2 separate regions of the Homo sapiens genome follow, and region 1 is linked to region 2. Evidence: promoter capture Hi-C in 16 types of primary human blood cells and fetal thymus (Javierre and others, 2016). All regions are on one chromosome and are shown on one strand. The core of a region is centred on a gene start or on the middle of the fragment in contact, and the rest is flanking DNA. Distances in the headings are between cores, read along the strand shown. Region 1 has its middle 72 kb from the start of EGFL6. Region 2 holds the start of PRPS2 (phosphoribosyl pyrophosphate synthetase 2).

What was found. The method cuts DNA at HindIII sites, captures the fragments that hold promoters and counts their contacts. A CHiCAGO score of 5 or more calls a contact.
Region 1: a contact is called between a fragment that was not itself captured here and the fragment with the promoter of PRPS2 in region 2, in 3 of 17 cell types (total CD4 T cells, monocytes and activated CD4 T cells). The highest score is 6.0, in total CD4 T cells.

The regions. Positions count from the first base shown.
Region 1 is chrX:13,493,941-13,500,346 of GRCh38, reverse strand. No RefSeq gene overlaps it. Among named protein-coding and RNA genes, the nearest start is that of EGFL6, 72 kb to the left of the region's middle. The HindIII fragment of the contact is 4,972 bases long and covers 1-4,943 here.
Region 2 is chrX:12,787,248-12,793,141 of GRCh38, reverse strand. It overlaps PRPS2 (phosphoribosyl pyrophosphate synthetase 2), which reads right to left and starts at 1,730. Exons shown (of 7, transcript NM_002765.5): 1 at 1,523-1,730. The coding sequence starts at 1,644. RefSeq lists a silencer at 1,025-1,474. The HindIII fragment of the contact is 8,457 bases long and covers 921-5,894 here.

The DNA.
Region 1 (6,406 bases), core at 1,208-3,707, 710 kb before region 2:
AGCAAGTGTGGAGAGTAAACGTATGTATGTTTTGCACCTGCTGGCGATGTTTATTTTGAGTAAAGATATGCTTCTGCCTTTTCCTTGACAATGTGAAATGTGCATGTTTTTGTTTTCCTTTGCTTACAGTCGGGCATTGAGCAAATTCAGTCCATATGTTTTCCCTTGAAATCTATCTTTTACTATTGGCTTTAAATATTATCGTGTCAGTTTGTTCTCATGACATCTGATGGCAACAAGCATTTCAGAGGATAGAAATGATTTTTTGCACTGAAAAGGTAGTTATGTGGCATTGTATTTAGCTGGCATCAGACACCACACTATTGCTACTGCTTGGCTACTCAGATGAGACTTTATATAGTACCTGCTTTCAGTGTTCCCACCTGCCTGGTGCCGCTTCTTTCCCTGCACCCACACACCCACACACCCACACCCATCTCAGCTTTAGCAAGATTGATTATCTCCCTGCTTTAAGTTATACAGCTTCTGCCTGCTTTTCCTGGATGCTAAGAACTTCAACTGCATGGAGAAGAGCTAAAGACTTGGAACTGACAGTTGGGTCGTTTGGACCAGTTTGAGATTTTCAGCCTTGGCAGGACTGTCAGAATAATAAACCCTTAGACTCTTCACTGTAATGTTTCATGAAATAAAAGAAGAAAGTGCTTATTTTTCTTAGAAGAGAGCACACAAAGCTGAAATAAAGTAAAATTATTTGTTACTAATTGCAAAGACAAGTTCACAGTGCACTGGTTTGTGAAGAGGCAAATTTAGTATTTACCAGTTGGAAAACCTATAGAAAGTAAAAATCACTCAACACATAGAACACAGAGACATAGAGCTTTTGTTAATGACTGTTGGGAGACAATTCTCCACCGACCTTTACAGTTTTGTCTTGCTGGCAGAGGTGCTGACAACCTTTGTTCTGCACATTTTTGTCAAGGATGTTTGTATAGCATCCTTTGAAAGGTAGAAAGAACATCTACTTCCAGAACTGAGGGCAAGTTTGTTTGCTGTCAAGTATAACCAAGATAATATCTGTCTCTCAAGCAAAAGTCAGGCAGGTTTACCTACCGTCCATTGTCAAAGATTTGGGTTTCCTAAACTCAGGATTCCTCAGTTGTGATGTAAACCCACTGCATACACGGCATCTACCTGGGCCACTCTGTGTAACTCCCATGGGACTCGGGAAGTGAGAAGGATCTGATGTGAATATGAAAACTCATGCTGCTTGTAGTTCTGAGAATAATGAAGTCTCTTTTGTCTCTGACCCAAGAGTCTCATATCTTTTGCCAGAATCCATGAAACTGTGGCAGACTAACTCATGAGACTGCTAGTAGGATCAAATCTCAGATCCTTCACAGTTCTTGACTCTGACAATGCCATAGTTTCATCCATTTCCCTGACTTGCAGTTTGATATACTGGTTTGAAGTTGAGATGTGGTTTCTTTTGGAGGAGCTATGTAACAGCATGCTGGAATGAATGTAAGAGACACTAATGTCTATATTCAAGGCTCAATCATTATCAATGGTTGAAAGTGAGATGTTATGGCAGAAGTGGAAGTTAAGGCTATGAGAGTTCAGATTTAATTCATATATCTTTTGAAGAAGCATTGTAGAGTGGTTGCTAAACTTTGAATTGAGATAGACCTGGGATCAAGATCCAATTCAATAACAGCAGTGTGAGCAAGTCCTTAATCTCTGCATGTGTCAGTTTCCTGACCTGTGAAATGGGAAGACAATATAATTTACCTCTGTGGTTTTGGGGAAACATTTAACACAGGGGTGGGAAATAAATTTCTGTAAAGAACCAGGTAGTAAATATTTCAGGCTTTTCAGGGCCCCACAGTCTCTGTGGCAACTACTCCCCTCTGCCAACACAGTATGAAAGCAGCCATAAGCAATACAGTAGTGAATGGGTTTGGCTGTGTTCCAATAAAACTTTATTTACAAAAACAGGCAGTATGCCAGATTTGGCCCTTGGGCCATAGTTTGCCAGCCTGTGACATAGCAACTTACTTGGCTCACTGCCGGTATCTAATAAAGGGGTTCTTCTATGTCACCCACTATAGTTTGTATTTTTTTTTTAAATATAGATTCAGGGAACGTGCAAGTTTGTTACATGGATATATTATGTAATGGTGGGTTTTGGGCTTCTAATGTAGCCATCACCCAAATAGTGAACATAGTATCCAATAGGTAATTTATCAACTCTCATCCTCTTCCACTTCCCCCTTATGGAGCTCCCAGTGTCTATCATTCATATTTCCATTTTTAAGTCCGTGTGCACCCATTGTTTAGCTCCCACTTATAAGCGAGAGCATGTGATATTTGATTTTCTGTTTCTAAGTTATTTCAGTTAGGATAATGGCTTCCAGCTCCATGCATGTTGCTGCAAAAGACATCATTTCATTGTTTTTTTATGGCTACATAGTATGCCATGGTGTCTATGTACCATATTTTCTTTATCCAATCATGTGCTGATGGATACTTAGGTTGATTCCATAACTTTGCTATTATGAATAGTGCTGCAATAAATATACAAGTGCAAGTGTCTTCTTAATATAATGATTTACTTTGGGCAGATACCCAGTAGTGGAATTGCTGGGTGGAACGGCAGTTCTATTTCTCTCTTCACATCATATAAATCTTTCACCATTTATTATGTTGTCTGTACTTGTTACTTCACTTAATCCTTGATGAGGTAGCTAATGTCTCCTTTTTATAGACAAGGAAACTGAGGCTCAGGGAAGAGAAACAATTTGCTAAATTCCCATGACTGGGTAGTCAAGGTCAATTCAAACTCTGGCCTTCTGACTTTAAGCCATTATTTTTACCAACATCCTGTGTTACCTTTGGACAAATATCTCCATTCCTAAGAGTTTTAGAGGCAAACCTCAATTTTGTTTGGGGACAAATTCTTGTTTGTGGGTGTATGTACATGTATAAAATAAGGTTTGAATTATACAAACCAATGATCACCAAAATCCTTAATGAGATTCCAGCTACGGATTCATAGGCATTTTTAGTTGTCCTATCCACACCACCAAATCTGATATATTGCAGAGCATTTCCATCAAGAAAGAGGGGGAAGTACGCTCTACAAGAATAGTGATGAGTAGGGAAAAGAAGGTTTCCCTGTCTACTACTTGGGTTGGGAGTTTATTACTTGGAAGAATCCAAAGTGAAGTATAAACCCAGGGTCCATCTGAAGAAAAAAGTTAACATTTTCTTATGGATTCAAATATACAAGGCCCTGGCCATGGCAAAATTCTGGAAGGATGATATTGCCTGGATAATTACTATATGTCAAGCAAATTATAAGGTGAACACCAGTTAATTATCATTAGAATAAAGGTACCATCAAAGCGAAAAAAAAAGACAAGAAAAAATCCCACCAACATCTTGAGTGATTATCATTTAGATATGGAATCATAGATTATGTACATTTTTTACACTTTTTCATGCTTTCCAAATTTTCTACATGGAGAATGGGTTGACTTTACAAACAGACAAAACCAAGAAATGTCACAAAACTTATTCATGTTGAATTTGTAATAGCAAGGGAAATGATTCTGTCATGATGTTAAGGATACAAAGTGACACATAGAAATATATTTTCTCTTTGTGTAAAAATAAATCTTGGCAAAAACAAAAAAGACTAGAAGAATATTAACAGAGGTAGTATAGGGATGTAAGTCTTTTTTTTCTCTTTTTTTTATTCTTTTGTAGTTTCCAGATTTTCTATAAGGAATATATGTTATGTTTAAAACTTTTTAAAATAAATAATTTAAAAAACAAAGCTGATGCTATTAAAAAACAAAAACACACACAAAAAGCTGATTACAATTTTGGCCTCAATTGCTTCGCTTCTGCTCTGTTCATGGAGCAACTTTTGCTTCAGCATGATCCCCAGTGCTCCAGACCAATCCTGCATACAGGCAGGAATTGTCTCAGTGAGTCCCATAGTATGTTAGAGGTGGTGTGTGCGCATGCACGTGTGTGTGTGTATGCATGCACGTGTGTGTGTATGCGCGCATGCACACACGTGTGATGTTAGGGAGAAGGGAGAGTTTCTCTTTGTTGTAAAATCAGGGTTCCTATTTTTCAGACTCAAGGTGCAGTGTCCTGTTGCTTATTACTGAACTCAGTAACGTTTTCCATGTCACCACCTCCCTCCCCCATGGCATCTCCACTCTGTTAACGAACATCTTTTTCTAAACTGAGCCCAAGCCTCCCATCTGTCCCGTATCGTAGTTGTGCTTTTTTTTTTTTTGAGACAGAGGCTGGAGTGCAGCCATGCGATCAAAACTCACTGCAGCCCCCGCCTCCTGGGCTCAAGCGATCCTCCCACCTCAGCCTCCCGAGTAGCTGGGACCACAGGCATGTACCACCACACTGGGCTGTTTTGTATTTTTTGTAGAGATAGGGTTTCGTCATGTTGCCCAGGCTGGTCTCAAACTCCTGGGCTCAAATCATCTGCCCACCTTGGCCTCTCAAAGTGCTGGGATTCCAGGCATGAACCACAAGGCTCGGCCCACAGTTGTGCTTTAGTCCCTGATTCAAATCCTCCTTCAGCTGGTTTACAAAGTATCCGTGTTCCTGCCTCTTCCTGGGGTCCTGACTTACTGTTTCACAAGGTGTCCCACCCCAGGATTTAGCCCTGTCCTCAAACCCCAGCTTGCTGGCTGGGACTTTTACTCATTGCTTGACTTTACAGAAGCAGCCTGATTTTACAGTAAAACTCTTTACTGCTTCAGATTCCCAGCCACTCTGTCCCCACACCTGGCAGAACATAGTGTCTTTTGCAGGGCCATTTGTGCTGTCATCCATCTTGAATTATGCCTGTGGCTTGCCTCCCCTGACCCCACCCTGCTGAACCTTTGATGAGAACTGGCCTGCTTCCCAGTATTGATCTGTTCTAGAGCTGAGCTCTGTGCCAAGCTTCCTTCTGAGCCACCCTATTGCTGTGCCAAAGTTGCATCAGGTCTAGACATCCAAACCTGGATGGGTGACACTAGGGCAGATATAGAAAACAGAAGCCAAAGCACTGAGTCAACAGGGGTGGAAAAACTAGGGGGTCCCATGGTCACAACGGAAGTGATCCTAGAGTAATAGGCCTTGGCACTATTGCAATTTGGGGCCTGATGGTCCTTTGTTGTGGGAGTCTCTCTAATGTACTATAGGAGGTTTAGTGGCAGCCCTGGCCTTTACCCATTTGATGCCAGTAGCACCCCACTTCCCCAGCTGTGACAAAGAAAAATACCTGCAGATATTGCCAAATGTCCCGAAAGGACAAATATCACCCCCATTGAGAACCACTCATATATATTATTAAAGATTTCCCCAAATGGTTCTTCAGTTTGGACTTTGTGGACATGTTTGTTTTTAATCAAGGTTTATCAACCTCAGCTCTATTGATATCTTGGTCCCAGTAATTCTTTATTGTGTATGTTGGGGGCTGCTGTCTTGTGCACTGGAGAATGTTTAGCAGCAGCCCTGGCCTCCACCCACTAGATGACAGTTGCACCTGCCCACCTCCCAGTATTGACAAACAAAAATGTCTCCAGATATTGCCAAATATCCCCTGGGGAGCAACGCCTGGTTGAGAACTGTGGTCCCAGAGCAATGCTCACTCTTGCTGCTGGTGTGCATGGCGTGATGGGAGCAGAAGGGACTAGAAGGAAGCAGACAGAGAAGAATTTTGGAAGGGAGCCCTTCTCAACTGATTCTTTTGAAACTGAGAAATTTCAAAACAACAACACTGGTTTTTTTTTAATTGACAAACTAACAGTGAGTCTGTATTAGTGGTTCTCAACAGGAACAGTTTTTCCTCATAAGCGGACATTTGGCAATGTCTGGAGACATTTTTAGTTGTCAAAACCAGGAGGTGGGGATGCTACTGGTGTTTAGTGAGTAGGGACCAGGGATGCTACTAAGCCTTCTACAATCCACTGAACAGCCCCCACAAAAGAATAATTAGCCCCAAATGTCAATAGTGCCGAGGCTGAGAAACCCTGGTCTATATGCATGTCATTCAATTGGATTTGATTGGAAGTCTTAGTGCAATTCACCACATTTGAATTCCACTTGCAAAACAGTCTTTACAAACAATGCAGGACACTCACTCCAAGTCTGGGTGACCAGTTGTTCTACTTGTATTACTGAGGAACCAACATAGTTTGCACTGAGAATGCCAAGAGGGTCCCCAAATTGTCTACTTGATAACATACCCAACTCATCTATATGGATAATAAGCTCTGTCCCAACTTTCTACAAAGTTGTTCAAGGGCATAACTGAGGCAAGTGGCTAATTCAGAAATGTCCTGGCCGGTAGAGTTCCCTGTGAGAAGAAATCAGACCAACTTCAGGGCAGGAACTTTGTGATCATTATTTTTGGCTACCCAGA
Region 2 (5,894 bases), core at 481-2,980:
CAGCGACTGAAACTTGAACAAGACTGGCAAAATACTGCAACACTCAAACCTAGCTCTATCCTTCTCCAGAGCCCTAGACCATCCTCTCAGACTTCTGCATTAAACACTGCAGAGTGGAATTCTTTAGCCAAAGTCCACCTGCCACTCATTCACAATGTTTCTTCGCTTATATTATCATCGGAGCCATAACTGGAATTTGCCACCTGGAAGAAGTCACGTAAGATTCACATATCCTAAAAAGCTGACTTGCCAAAATATAGCATCTTCCCCATCAGTATTAACATAACTCCTCCTTAAGAAATTTTTGCCTAACCCCAAGTCAAGATTTTCTGCTAGAAATTTTATAGTTCTAGATTTTACAATTAGGTCTATGATCCACTTCAAAGTTAATTTTTACAAATGGTGAAAAGTATGGATGGAAGTTCATATTTTTTGGCATATGGGTGTCCAACTGTTCCAACACCATTTCTAGAAAATGTTGGTAAAATTGAACCTTTGCCAAAGATATAAAAATTATCAGTAACTGTGGACAGTTAACGGTACTAGACATTGGAGGAAGAAGGGGGAAAAATGAGACCAATTTGAAATGAGTCAAGGAGCTGTGTGGACTCAGGCAGATAGACAAAGGAGCCCCCCAGGTCAGCTTCCGAGGATGGCCACCACCTGAGGCTCTCCTGGACTTGAGAAATGGGTGAAAGTTACAGTCGAATCACGGCGTTGTTGCTGGACACAGCAGAGTCCTAGAACAAGAAGGAAGCTGAAAGTCCATCATCTTTAAAGCAGCAAGAGTAGTGGGAGCAGAGGGGAGCCCAGCACGTGCGTCCTGGGGTTCTCACAGTCTTTCAAACCTTGGCACAACTGCACCCTCTGGATAACGCAGTGGTCTGCGCCCTGGCTGCTCAGGAGAAGCCAGGGAAGCTTGTAAAATCGCTGATCCTCCGCCCGTTGGATCAAACCCTTGGGGGCAGGTCGGGGGAAGCAGCGTTCGGACCGTCCCCAGGTAAACCCAGCGTGCAACCAGAGTTGGGGACGGGGGGAAACCTTTAGTCGCACGCACTGGTCTGAGGTTCAGCTTTGTAGGGACGCGGAAACTGGGACCAGCCAACCCAGGACGTCTCTCCACCGCGCGCTGACCCGATGCGGTTCCCGCCCGCTGCGCCCACTCTCTCCCCGACGGTCTGTGACCGCCCAGACGTCTCCCTTCCGGGCTGGGGACGCCAGGCCGGGCGGCACCGCTGGGAGGCCGGGAGCGGCTCGGGACCGCCGGGTCGCCGCGGTCCCAGGACCGGAGGCCCTGCAACCGGGGGCACAGCCGAGGCGCGCATCGGGACGCGCGGCGCCCCGCCTCGGTTTCTTCGCAGGCGCGGGCGCGGGGGCGCGGAGGCCGCGTTGCCACCGTCCCGCCCCGGAAGGGGGAGCGCGGCGTCCGCGGAGGTGGCCCGGGCAGGCGCCGGCCCCCAACCCGGCCCCGCAGCCGCGTGCCCAGCGCTCTCCCTAGCCCGGCCGCCGGCGCGGCCCCCACCTGGTCTCCTGGTTGCTGAACTTCTTCGTGACCACCTTGCCCAGCTCCAGGCCCAGGCGGTCGGCCACGCGCTGGGACAGGTCCTGATGCGAGCTGCCGCTGAACAGCACGATGTTGGGCATGGTGGGGCGCGGAACTCCGAGGGGCGCGCGGCGGCGGAGGAGGTGGCGGAGGCAACAGCGACAGCGACGCGGGAGGCTGCTGCTGCGGGAGCGGGAAAGCGCGGCGGCTAGATGTAGGGAAGGGGAGGAGCGGAGGGGGAGGAGCCGGAGGAGGAGCTAGAGGGGGCAGAGAGGGAGGAAGAGCGGGCGTGGAGGGGGAGCTGGAAAGTGCCGGGGGGCGGGGGCACAGCCCTGGCAGCAGTTTTGGACGCCCTGGGTGGTCCTGAAGCCCGAAGGTGTCCTTGCTCCGCGAGAGAGCTCCGAGCTTCATTCTTGATCTTCCAGACCTGCCTCGCGGGGAGAGCCAATGAACCGCGGTTAGCTGGGCACAGAGGGAGAGTTCGGGCCGGGGGGATCCCTCGAGGTGCTTCGCAGCCCGGAGCGACTTCCCACCCCGGAACACCGCAAACCCAGTGTGGGCGACTGGTGTTCAGCTATAGCAAGGGTCTGCAAACTACAGCCTATGGGCCAGATCGCGAGAGCTCCCTGTGTTTGTACCAGAGAGCTAAGCATGGTTTTCATACATGAACATTTGCACTTTATGTGATGATAGCAGACACCGCCTTTGAACTCCAATTAAGAGAAATATCCCCCCCGCAAAAGAATTCCTTTTCTCTCATTAATAGATGTGAGTTGCAAATAATTGTACTCAAATATTACCGTATTTTGGATTATATCAATAAAAACATTGTGACAATTTTTTCTCTCTTGTTATGTAAGTTCCTACGTAATATCTTCCCTTTTCTTGCTTGGTCTGCAAAATGTAAATATTGGCCATGTGGTCCCTCATAGTTCAAACTTGATGACCCCTGAACTACAGAGTTGCCCCTGCACCATGTGTCCTTAAAAAATCCAACCACTATGTGAGTCCTCATCACAGGCTGAGGGGAAGTATTGCTCTTGGTGGCTCACTGGATCAAACCAAGTCCCCCAGATTCACCATTTTTCGGTAGATGTGATGGTCCTTGGGGCACTTCACAACCTTCTGCCTGTTGGGTGCTCAAGGGCCTGATCCCAGGAACACAGATCTCCCTAGACAATCCAGCTCAGTCCCTCCACATCCCTGGAGTCAGGGCCTCCTTCCTCTCTTTCCTGCTAGAAACCAGCAAAAAGGTTTTCTCAAGATGCCAATGCAGTACCAGAGCCAACTTCAGGGCACAAACCAAGTGTAGGAGAAAGGAAAGCAGTCCCTGTCTATAGAGGGCTGGTTGGTGATGCTGGTCACAGTTTCACACTCCTCAACAAAGGCTGATTCAACCGGGTAGATAAATGGCTTGGTTTTACTAATGTTTGCCACGAATTGGCTCTCCATCAACAGCAAAGCCCACTTGCAATTGGGTTGTAGCCTACTCTAATCAGACTTCATAATGGGATTTGGGAGATTACAGGGATGATTCGCATCATTGGGATTTTTCATCTGGGTCCTTGTACTTTGCAAGGAGATTACTTGGCACATCGAGTGTTTCTTGTAAACTTTTGTATCTGCCAGCCTATCAAAAAGTTATTCAAACTGACAATTTTAGCAGCATTTCTGGCCCTTTTTCATTCCGCCTAGAGATGCATATGTGCCCTATTATGTGAGAAAACAAACAAAAACCCCTATCTGCAATGGTTTATTATCTATGTATTTCACAGCTAATTACCATAGCAATGAGATTTATACTTGACCCACTATGTTTAAAATTTTTATTGAGTCTGCTAATGTAGTTATATTTAAACTCTTCTAATAAAATTTACTATCAGCAAATTACTATAATTTTTATATTCTTAATATTTCTCTCATAGATAAAATTGACTAATAATGGTTTCTTCTAAATATATAGATGCTCTTCTCAAAGGGAAAGTGGCATCCTCTTAGCATGATGGGGCTGTGGTTCTTTGGTAACACAGAACCAAAGCTGATGGACTATAAAACAGTAAAAGTTAAAGCCCCTGGTCTTTGGGTGGGTAAATGGCTGCAGATTTGGAAGCTCGGATTGAATTGTGACAAACCATGGACTTGATAGCACCAAGGAGAAACAATATCTCAGTTGGGGCAACTAATACAATGATTGTTGGTTCAATAGTTTGATGAGTTACTCTGCTTAAATGCTAAATGTAAACAAGGTGAAATGTGCCATTGGGGTTGATGAGAATACTAATGGGAATCATTGAAAAATCATCATGAGTCACAGACTGTTCAGAAAGCTGTCACTTGTAAATGAGCAGCTACAGATAATTTTATTTAAGTGTGAAAACTTTCTCTCCCAAATGCCTTTATCCTTGATCCATAGGAGCCAGGTTGTGGGAAACATTGGTCTAGAGCAGGTTTCTGAACCTCAGCACAGCTGATATTTAGGCTGGGTAATTCTTTGTTGTGGGACTGTCCTGTGCATTGCAGATTGTTTAGCAGCCTCCCTTGCCTCTACCCACTAGATGCCAGTAGCACCTATCCACCACTGTGACAACCAAAAGTGTCCCCAGACATTGCCAAATGTCCTACAAGGAGCAAAATCACCACAGGTTGAGAATCACTAGTTTGAAAGAACCCCTGGCCCTTCTCTCCTCCATGTGGGCCTTTCTTCATGGTTGTTTGGGCTTCCTTACGGCATGGCTGCAAGGTTCCAAGGAGTGTTCCAAGAAGATAAGTCTCAATGAGCAAGTGCTTATCAAACCTCTGTTTTTAACTTGCTTGCTAATGTCTCATTGACCAAAGCAAGTTACATGGCCAAGACCAGCTGTCAACATGGTATGGGACAACTGGAGGGCATGAGTACTGTCCACCAACTGTCTACCACAGTGCACTTCTTGAACAACATTTGAAGTTGGGGAGCCTCTGGAAAAATGGAACACTTGTTCAAAGACCCAAGACTTAGAAGAGAAAAAGAACATATACTCTGTGCATATGTGATCTGGGTCTCAGACCGTTTATAAAATATACATTATCTTAAGATAAAATGTTAGTGGAAAAAATTAAAATGATGAGATATTTTCTATTGTTGATTTCTATCTTCATTGACTCATGGATAGAGATTAACGGTAAAACAATGATTTGAATTTATGAACAGTTTCACGTCTTCTATTTCCCACATCATCTAGCCAAGTTCTTTGTATATAGTAAGAAGTCTAAGTATTTGCTGAGTGAATTTATCCCTGACTATTTTAGGGCTGAGAAACGGAAGAAATTTCCCCAAGTCACATGGCTAGTTGAAAGCAGCAAAGGAATTAGAATGTGGATCTTCTAGTCCAGTCCTTTTCTCTCTAGAATGGTACCATCCAAAAGAAATGTAATGATTGTTTCCTATATGTTTCTATGAAAAAATTTTAAACTTTTTAAAAAGAAATATAATGCAAGCCACATATGTAATTTACACTTTAGTAGCTGTATTTTAAAAGAATATAAAAAACAAGTGAAGGTAATTTTAATAATACACTTTAATCCAATATCCAAAATATTATCATTCCAACATGTAATCAACATAAAACATATTAATGAGCTACTTTGCATCTTTTTGTGTCAAGCCTTCAAAATCCAATATAGATTTTACGCTTACAGCACATCTTAATTTGGACTTGCCATATCTGAAGTGCTCATCAGCCACATGTGGCTGATAGTTGCTGTATTAGAACAAGAAGTTCTAGAACACTAGTTCCTAAGAGCAATGCCAAGACACTCTGACATAACCTTTTTCTTGTATGTTTTTATTAGGGGTGTGGCAAATAATTTATAACTTATTATGAAATGCTAACATTTATAAGCAATGTACTTTAAAAATAAGTTAAAATAGATTCAACTTTAATTCTCTATTAATAACATTTTCACTCAGAATCAAGTAATTTTTCTGATTTTTATTTCTAGAACTTTACCTTTTACTTCTGTTGTTTAAAGAAAAATCCAAAAACCGAGATGAAAATAGAGTGAACACCGATATACCCACCACCTAGATTTTGTAGCTGTCAAAATTTTCCCATGTTTGCTTTATCTGTTTTTATCTAAAGTATTTTAAAGTAAATTACAGATGTTATATATTCACCTCTAAATTATTTAGCCTGCATATATCTGTAAAAAGATAAAGACATCACACCGTATGCAAACGTTAATTTAAAATTGATCAAAGACCTAAATGCAAGAGCTAAAACTATAAAACTCTTTTTCTTTTCTTTTTTTCTTTTTTTCTTCTCTTTTTTCTTTTCTTTTTCTTTTCTTGTTTTCTTTTCTTTTTTTTCTTTTC